Linked DNA regions of Homo sapiens: region 2 is linked to region 1. Evidence: promoter capture Hi-C in 16 types of primary human blood cells and fetal thymus (Javierre and others, 2016). All regions are on one chromosome and are shown on one strand. Each heading gives the region's core, a stretch centred on a gene start or on the middle of the fragment in contact. The rest is flanking DNA. Distances are from core to core; before and after follow the strand shown. Region 1 holds the start of KIF16B (kinesin family member 16B). Region 2 overlaps ESF1 (ESF1 nucleolar pre-rRNA processing protein).

Region 1 (4,555 bases), core at 1-2,500:
ATGATTCCCTACTTGCCAAGAGAAGAAACAGATTTAGATGAGTCAAATAAGGTTCTGGAAATCTTTTGATTTTATGGCCTTCGGCTGCCCCAATCAGGCATCAGAACTACCAAACATTAACCTCCACAAGTTGATATGACAAAAGCAAAAAGGCCCTATGGTAAGTCAAATATCCACCAACTTGGTAGAGAAGTCAATAAAATCAAATGGCTCTGTGTGAACCTTGCCTGTCACCTTGGAGGACACATCCCATTTCTACCTCATTCTTTGAAGTCAAACCAATTTAAAAAGTAACTTTTCCAAAGAAACTTTCTAAACGGATTAAAAAGAGGTCATTGAAAAGGGAGCACAGGCTATTTTTCAGTGAATGAAGAGAAGGATTCTGAAAAAGCATTACTTCGTAGAAATATATAACAAGATTAAATTTTGTGTGTAACACTCTTCCTCTCTCTTAATATCAGAGTATTTCAAACACGTGTAAAGCGTCCCTGACTTTTTTCTAGGAGTCAGGACTTTGTCAAAGTTTTCCCATCCACTCTCTAACATGAAGTTAGGAACTGCTAAGTTATCGATTAGACATTCAGGGAATCAAAATCATCTCTAACTGAAAGATTAAAAAGTAGCATGGTTAATTGTTAAGAGAACTTCTGAGTTGGTAGAAATGAGGGGTTCACCTGACAGTTCGTGGTGCCCCCCCTCAGCACTCTCACCTTCCCCCCAACTATTTTACATCTTCATGGTAACGTTCCCTTGATGCTTTTTTAAAGGGGGAACAAGAACATCTCAAGTTAATACGATGGAGAGAGTTAATAGAATCTTCTCCTTTACCACCAGGGTCCTCTCCAGGGCAATGTGAACGGGACAGCAGTGCACGAAGTCCTCCAGGCCCCCAGAGGCCACAGCCTGGGCCCGGTGGGCCAGGGACCAGCCGGTGACACTTTTAAGTCCAGGCTGGCTTTGGGGGAGCTGGAAACAGGCTTCCTCTGGGTGGGGGCGCGACGAGGGGGCGGGGCGCGGGCGGCCCCACTCACCTGCGATTCATGGGCCGGACCCTCACGGCCACCTTGACCGATGCCATCGCTCATCCCGAACCAGCCCGCGCGGGGTCCCACTAGCCCAGAACTCCGCGGTCGCCGGCGACGCTGGCTACTCAGATCGCGGCTCCCGCCCACTTCCCTCTCGCCCCCGCCCCTCTGCTCCCGGCCGGACCTGGAGTTCCGCGGCAGCCCCACCTGCCAGGCCACTGAGCATGCCCAGAACGGCTCCGGCCCGCGTGATCCATGCGCCACGGTTTGGCGGCGGCCGGGCGGTGCAGAGGGGCGGGGCCGCGGGGCCTGGAAGCAGCCTCCGGGATCTGCAAGTCTGGAAAGGCCACGTTGTGGACCTTGGCGCAGAGGTTATGGGGGCGACCCGGAGCGGATGGTTTCAGGAAAACTAGAACCCACCCTCATGGCCTGAACAACTGGAGAGAAGAGGATCGCAGCAATTTAAAGCCAGCGGCAAGGATCACAGTCCTGGGGTCAGGTGACCAAAGCCAGTTTTTCAGCCCTTAACAAGAACCTGGCTTCACCCAGCCAAACATGAGTTAACGTATCCATTTTACACACGAACAAACTGAGGCGCAGAGATGATCACAGCTTGTTGGTGGCAAACTCCGCTAGGGCCTTCTCTGCTACCCTAAGGAGGTCCGACCGTATGTTTTGGACCCCTTAACTCGGGATACCGATAAACGAAAATTAATAGGGTGTTGGATGTTTTAAATGTGTGCGGGAATGTCATTATATTGGCTAGAATCAAACCTTATTTAGACTTGTTTTGCACTTTTGTACACTTTAGTAATTTTTAGTTTTAATCATAAGGGAGTTAAAGGCGAACACAACTGGTATTTTTTTTTTTTTTTTTTTTTTTTTGAGACAGGGTCTCGCTCGGTCACCCAGGCTGGAGTGTAATGCTGCGATCTCGGCTCACTGCAACGTCCGCCTCCCGGGTTCAAGAGATTCTCCTGCCTCAGCCTCCCGAATAGCTGGGCGTGCCACCACGCCCGGCTGATTTTTGTATTTTTAGTAGAGACGGGGTTTCACCATGTTGGCCAGGTTGGTCTCGAACTCCTGACCTCAAATGATCCGCCCGCCTTGGCCTCCCAGAATGCTGGGATTACAGGCGTGAGCCACCGCGCCAGGCCGACAACTGGTATCTTAAGGCTTAGGGCCTCTGGTAGAAGTGAGCTCCACCTCCCTTCCTGTGTAGAAGGTAAATGCATTCATTCATTCAGTGAATCGAGCATGCATGAAATCGTTTGCGCACACCCAGAAGCCCACCTGCGAGCCACAGGAGCAGCCATTCCAGGAAGCCAAGCTATAATGGGAGACGCAAGGAATGGAGGCGGAACTCCTGTTTTTAAGTCCTAGCTCCAACACTAGCCTTGTCAGCCTGTAATTCTGAATTACTGGGCGCCTCTGAGGCTTCTTGTCTCATCTGCAAATCAGGAACAACGGCATAGAGTGGTGAATGCATCAAGTGGGATGATGTCTGCAAGTACGCAACCCGCTTACACAAAGAATTATCTTTCCATAACCTTCCCTGGACCCCTAGGGCCAGCAGGGAATCATAGCCTCCCTTTGTTTCTAGAGCCCGGAAATCACTGGGTTTTCCCTCTGTCTGGAGCAGAGCTGGGTGCGAATTTGACCAACGGGTGGCAGGAACAGCCGGAGCAGGATATTAAGGAGCGGGCGAGCTTGCCAAGCATGCGCAGTAGCGGCGGGTTGGTTTGAGAAGCCGCCAGGGAGCCAGCGCGGCGACCTAGCTGGCTGGGGCAGGGGAGGGGCCCGCCTTATATGGGAGCTGCGTGGGGACAAACTGTTCGGGCCCAACGCGCGGGTCTGAGAGACAGCCACGCCTGCTCCGGGTCACTCCGGCCACCTGGGGGGCGTCGGCGCGCAGACTCTGGCCAGTTCAGTATTCAAACTCTTCAGGAGTGCTAACTTACTCATGACAGCGATTTTCTGTATCGGGGTTTCATTGGTCGGTGGTTTAGAAGGTTTTGCTCATTCATTCGTTAATGTAATTCCAACAACCTACACGTGTTTATAAGCCCCCTTTCCATCCACGACTTTGCTGTCTGACACAAAACGGACCATCGCAGCCCGGCAGACGCTTTAGACAACAAACAGCATGCCTGGAGCTTTTCAATAGGAAGCAGTAAGGCTTGATCATCACAGACGATACGGAACGGGCACTTTCTTAGCAGAAAATATTTCTATTGGGGCGTGAAGGAAGTTTCTGAAAGGGAAGATTATTATAAGATAAGGGGTTTGCTCATCTCAGACTTTAGTGTGCCTGCTTTAAAGTGTTTTGCAAACTTGAATGTTTAAAGGAATCACCTGGCGGTCTTGTGAAACTGCAGCTTCTAATGGGCAAGTCAGAGGGGAAGCCTGAGACATGGCATTTCCAGCACGTTCGGGGAGTGAAGATGCTGTCGGCTGCCACCCTCCCTGCAAGGAGCCAGGGGATAGATGACCTCTACGCAAACTGTGAGAGCTTAAAATAACTGATAGTGAAAAACAGTTACAGAAGCTCTAGGCCGGGCACGGTGGCTAATGCCTGTAATCCCAGCACTTTGGGAGGCCGAGGAGGATGGATTGCCAGAACTCAGGAGTTTGAGACCAGCCTGGGCAACACGGTAAAACCCTGTCTCTACGACAAAATAAAACAAACAAAAATAAAAGCCACGCATGGTGGCGTGTGCTTGTAGTCCCAGCTACTCAGGAGGCTCAGGTGGGACAATCGCTTGAGCATGGAAGGAGGAGGTTGCAGTGAGCCAAGATCGCACCACTGTACTCCAACCTGAGTGACAGAGTGAGACCCAATCTCAAAAAAAAAAAAAAGCAGTAAATCCAGGGCCCAAAAGGTCAGTAAGAATTCAGGGATCCAAATCAGTTATGTACTGATGCATAAAAATAATGGCCAAAAATGTGGAGGCTTAAAACAAAAACCGGTTATTATTTCTCTCAATTCTTTGGGTTGCTGGTGTCACCCGGGCTTTGTGGCTGGGCTCTAGGCTCACCTGGGGTGAGGAAAAGTTGGTGCATTTTGCTTTTTCATCCTCAAAAAGTTTAGACCAGGTTCCAGATTTCTTGCGGCGGCGAGACACCTCGCCAGGAGAGCACCGCACTATGCACAAGCCTTTGCTGGACTTCCATTGACCAAAGGCAGTCACATGGTCACGCCCAGGCAATGTGGGAGGGCCCCGCAAAGGAGGGGTGGGTACTCAAGAGAGCCACTAAATAACAAACCTACCTTAAGATCACATTTATTTCTAACATTTTAATAGTTATAGTTCAGTATAATTGATTTTCCTGGTAATCCCATTTATTTTATTTTATGCATTTTAAAATGTTATTCTGAAAATGTTACTCTCACCAAACAACCAAAAGGGTCCACGGCATAAAAAAGGTTTAAGAATCTATGATTTTAAAATTCAATTGGATGGATAAAAGACATTTTTATTTTTATTGTGTATATATACATATATATGTGTGTATATATATATATATAT
Region 2 (5,138 bases), core at 1-2,500, 2.8 Mb before region 1:
TGCTTGTACTGTGTTTTTCACAAATAATCTTGTTTATTCAAAAGGTTACCTCATCAGCACGAGGAGCATCTTTATCTAATTCTCTCCAAGCATGCTCAAAACCAGATTCTTCTGGAAACAAATCTGCCGTATCATCTTCATCTTCAGAACTAGTTTCTATATTTCCTTTACCCCTTGCAAGATCAGGGCCACTGTCACTTTTATCATCATCCTCACTATCCTCATCTTCATCCTCCTCTTCATCTTCATCCTCCTCTTCATCATCTTCACTTCCATCGTCATCACCTGAAGCTCTACCAACACTTGTAATTTCATTTTCAGATTCCTCATCACTTCCTATTTCACTAACGCTTTCTGAATCTTCCTCCAGAGCATCTTTGTCACACATTTCACCATCTGTTGAGTTTTCATAACCATCACTGTCTCTTGTCATTATGAGTTGAACCACTGCAAAATGTTAAAGGGGAAAGAAATTAAGAAAAGATATATGCTGAATTAAACTGAATCCAAATTATCTTGACATCAACTCCAGTAAAAATATAATTTCTATGAAACACAGTAAAGACAAATATATATTCAGTAAATGCTTAGTCAATTTTTATGATAGAAATCCTAACCATAACTTCTATGAAACAGAGTAAAGGAAAATACACTTAACCAAGTTATTTAATGGAAATCCTAACACATGCTCACATCACGCAAGTAGATCCAGACATTCATTCAATACTTAACAGTGTGCCTGCTACGTGCTAAGTGCTCAATATACAACAGTTGGTAAAAGAGAAGCAAACAGTGCTCTCAGTGAAACTTCTAGCTGAGTGAAAAGAATACATGGATATCAAATAAAATCAATATATAGGAAAAGTTAAAATCACAACTAAGATATCCCAGAAAGAATGTTTTCTAAGGGGATTTAATGGGGTCCCTAAGTGAGTGATAACTGAGCTGTTACTTGAAGGATGAACAGGAGTTAAATAGTCAAAGTTAGACTAATAGATGGAAATTTGTTTGAAAGAGCAAGGAAGGTACCTGTAAAAATCTGCCAATAGGAAAAAGCCAACCATCATGTCCAGATCACAGATAGCACAGAATCAAGTAACAAATGGAAATGAAGAGTTAAGTAGAGGCCAAGCTATCAAAAAACCATATAGAGAGCTTGGACTTTTTCATAAAAGCAATGGGAAGACACTGCTGTTTTCAAAAAAGAGGATGTCATCTTCTTTTGGATATTGTCATCCTCAGACTTGCATATTGAGGAGATCACCTTGACTATACTGTAGAAAACTGACTTGGGAAAGTAAAGAACAGATGTGAATATAGTAAAGGTAGTACAGTACAAAAAGCAAGAAATGAAGGTAGCACTAAGTTGGGTGGCAGTATGTATGCAGAGATGTACATGGATTTCAGAGTCAGTCAGGAAGTGAAACCAATAATTACCGACTGGAGATTTGACACGGGGACTGGGAGTTTTGGAAGTGTCAAAGATGAGTCATAGCTTCTTAGCTTTCAGAGCTAGTTAGCTAAGAAGATGGAAAGATGAAAAGGGAACACTGGAAATGAACTAGTTTGTTTGGTGGAGGGAAATCATGAGTTCAGTTTTGAATATGTTGAATACGAAGTGCCACTCAGTCATCTAAAAGAAAGTATCAATAATAAGAGTGTACAGCTCAGAGAAGTCTGGGTTGGAGATCAGTGACTCATTCATACGCAGTTGACAACAGAAGCTGTGATGTGGATGAGATCACCTATAAAGACAGAGAAATAATATTTATACTTTTTCTGCCAGGTCTTGAACTTTGTAATCAACTGTCATGATTAGCAATACACCAAGATTGAAAGACTGTTTTTGCTTAAGATGGAAATTTTAGTCCTCACAACTCTGAAAGGGCTCATTTCCTACTTCTAAAGCAATCACAGGCTTCTATCTACTTGGTGTGTAGATATATCTTACGTGTTTTACTCATCTTTAAGTTGGAGCTTATTTTCTGCTTACAGGCTCTAAGTTTGGAAAATTAAAAGCAAATTTAAAAGTTCAAGATTTAGAATGAAATTGGAACTAATTTTCTCTTGGTCCTATAATCTTATAATAGTTATTCACTGACCAAATATTTACTGAGTATCTACTACATACAAAGAATTGAGCTAGGATAAGGGAAAAGAGAGAAGATTTGTAACACGATCTCATGCTCTTGATGGATTCATAAATAAAAGGTAACCATTTACTGATTTATAAATCTATGTTCTCAATCACCATACAGTGAGAGACATCTAAATTTGCCTGCAGAGAGGTATTTATAAAAAGGCTTCACAAAGATACAACTTGACTTGAGACTAACTGAATGAAAAGGCATCTTGTTAGAAGGAAAAGCAGGAAATGGGCTTTTATGTTACCACCACAACGAAGCAGGGATTAATAAAAATAACTAGCCAATAGAAGTGAAAAGCGCCAAAATGAAAGCATTGTCACAGGTTCTATATATGAGATCTGAAAAACACAACATTGAAAGTTACTATGAGGTAAGCAGAATTTACTTTTAAGCAACAAGCTTAGAAATAACATCTTACAGACCCAGTCTATCTAGTATTGCAATATTTCTCAACTGTCAGTCATTATACCATTTTCATGATTTTTGAATATCATTTTTTTATTAAATTGAATTTTTTAAAAGTTAGTTTTGCTCTAAACAATATTCCTAAAGTCACAGAAGTGATAGGGTAATTACATTGTTTTCTAAGATGTTGACACAGTACATAACTATTAATATTTTAGAAGTTTGAGTATCATCAAAAATCTTCTCACTTATGACAATGGTACACATACCACACTTTGGGTTATATAATAATAAAGTGTTGCATAAGAGACTTAAAGAGGTCTTCCATTTCAATGTTTTTAACAATATCAACTGCATTCAGAGTATTTATTCATTCAATAAGTATCTGCAGCCGAGCACAGCTGCTCACGCCTGTAATCCCATCATATTAGGAGGCCAAGATGGGAGGATCTTGAGCCCAGGAGTTTGAGACAAGCCTGGGCAACATGGCAAAACTCTTTGTCTCTACAAAAATACAAAAATTAGCTAGGCATGGTGGGGTGCACCTGTGGTCCCAGTGACTCGGAAGGCTGAGGTGGGAGAATCACCTGGGCCCAGGAAGTTGCGGCTGCAGTGAGCTGTGATTGCACCACTGCACTCCAGCCTGGGCAGCAGAGCGAGACCCTGTCTCCAAAAATAAAAATAAAAAACCCCAAAAAGTATCTGCTTAGAGCCCACAATGTACACAGCCTTGTGCAAGATAATGTGGGGTTACACAAATATAAATGTCTCTATTCCTAGACAGTATTGCTCTAGTAGTGACTGTAAACATTACTACTTATCCAGCTACTTCAAACAAAAAACAAAAAAAAACCAAAAAAACTGCTTTACCATTTTCCCCCAATTATAAACATAATGAATGATCATTACAAACCAAAAAAAGTTAGGAAAATATGGTTAATAAATAAAACAAAGGTGACTAGCAGTAATTTTTCATTCAAAGATAACTGGTTATTTTAGTATACAACCATATCCCTAAATTTCTTTTCTTTAATTTAAATACTAATTTGTTTAAAATAACTGGTCATATCGTTATTTTGGAACCTATTTTTAAAACTTCATAGATCACAGATGTTTGCATATATTTAATTAATCTCTTAATGATTTGTTACCATTTTAATTTCTATTTTCATTTTTTGAGACAAGGTCTTGCTCTGTTGCCCAGGCTGGAGTGCAGTGGCACGATCTTGGCTCACTGCAACCTCTACCTCCTGGGTTCAAGTGATTCTCGTGCCTCAGCCTCCCAAGTAGCTGGGATTACAGGTGTGCACCACTATGCCCAGCTAATTTTTGTATTTTTAGTAGAGACCGGGTTTTGCCATGTTGGCTAGGCTGGTCTCAAACTCCTGACCTCAAGCAATCCACCCGCCTCGGTCTCCCAAAGTGCTGGGATTATAAAGGTGAGCCACTGTGCCCAGCCAGTTACCGTTTTATTTTAAAAATAATGCTGCAATGCACATTCTTTGCACACATCCAATTATTTATGTAAAATAGATTCTGAGGAGTGCAAGTGCTGGGCATGAACATTTCATGATGACAAATATCACACTGCAAGTCCTCACATCACCTTTACTTCACAGCACTTAAAAAGGCCCTTGCACACAGTAATTGCTGTAATAACTGATGAATGGATAATGAACAGAAGATTATATATGGAGCCGTGTAATCCTTATTTATGAGTAATGCCTTTCCTAGACTGTGGAACCAACAAAATTACTGCAAGCAATGTGGTGGGGTAGAAGGAGTCAGAAGACTTGAGTTGCAGTTCCAGGTCTGCATGTCCTTACATAAGTCACTTTAATCTTGTTCGCTGATACAGTCTTATTGCTCAAGGTAACTAAGAAAATTAAATGAGAAAAGATATGTAAAAAAGTCTGTAAAATCAATCTAAAGGATTATATAGCTATGTTATATTAATTCAGTGCCCCAAATGAAGTGGATGCTAGACTAACTTACCTCACTAATTCAGTGTCAAATCAACTTTGCTGCCGGTCCCACTCCAATCTTATTCTTCAATTTTAGTAACCGGATTCCTATCCTTTCTTCCCACACCTCAAGAGGTCTGCTGCCTGGTTCCACTACAAATGTAAAATGGGATACCACCACTGACTCCCTAGTCCTTGCTATCCAGAATTCACTCCACTGCCTGATACCTTCTACCCTCACAGTGTGATCTCTGCTTATCAAGACCTCTTGGCCTATCAAAACCTCTTGGCCTATCAAGAACTCTTGGGCTATCAAGACCTCTTGGCCTATCAAGACCTCTCGGCCTATCAAGACCCCTCCTTGGATCCTGTAATCACAGGTCTGGCTCATGTGAACTACTACTGGTTTTCAGTTACATCTTCAACTATCAGCAACATCAACACTCAAAATTGCTTGCTGCTGGAGGTGACAAAAAATTTTAATTAGTAAACACGTAATGCAAACTAGAGCCAGCTGTCTCTCACCTAGTTCCAAACAATCATTTCTCGCTGCTACTCATTTTGGCCCTTCAAGACCTTATTATCTAATCAAACGGGACTACTGACCTCTTCTGAACATGCC

The links. Contacts are between HindIII fragments. The CHiCAGO score rates a contact against its expected background, and 5 or more counts as called.
Region 2: a contact is called between a fragment that was not itself captured here and the fragment with the promoter of KIF16B in region 1, in 1 of 17 cell types (total CD4 T cells). The highest score is 5.3, in total CD4 T cells.

What each region holds. Positions count from the first base shown.
Region 1 is chr20:16,572,198-16,576,752 of GRCh38, forward strand. KIF16B (kinesin family member 16B) reads right to left here and starts at 1,251. Exons shown (of 26, transcript NM_024704.5): 1 at 1,032-1,251. The coding sequence starts at 1,078. LOC124904875 (a long non-coding RNA gene) reads left to right here and starts at 3,106. Exons shown (of 2, transcript XR_007067539.1): 1 at 3,106-3,530. RefSeq lists an enhancer at 1,008-1,529 and silencers at 1,142-1,371, 1,158-1,287. The HindIII fragment of the contact is 9,174 bases long and covers 1-4,555 here.
Region 2 is chr20:13,775,824-13,780,961 of GRCh38, forward strand. It overlaps ESF1 (ESF1 nucleolar pre-rRNA processing protein), which reads right to left. Exons shown (of 14, transcript NM_001276380.2): 3 at 50-447. Among named protein-coding and RNA genes, the nearest start is that of ESF1, 6.5 kb to the right of the region's middle. The HindIII fragment of the contact is 2,588 bases long and covers 1-2,544 here.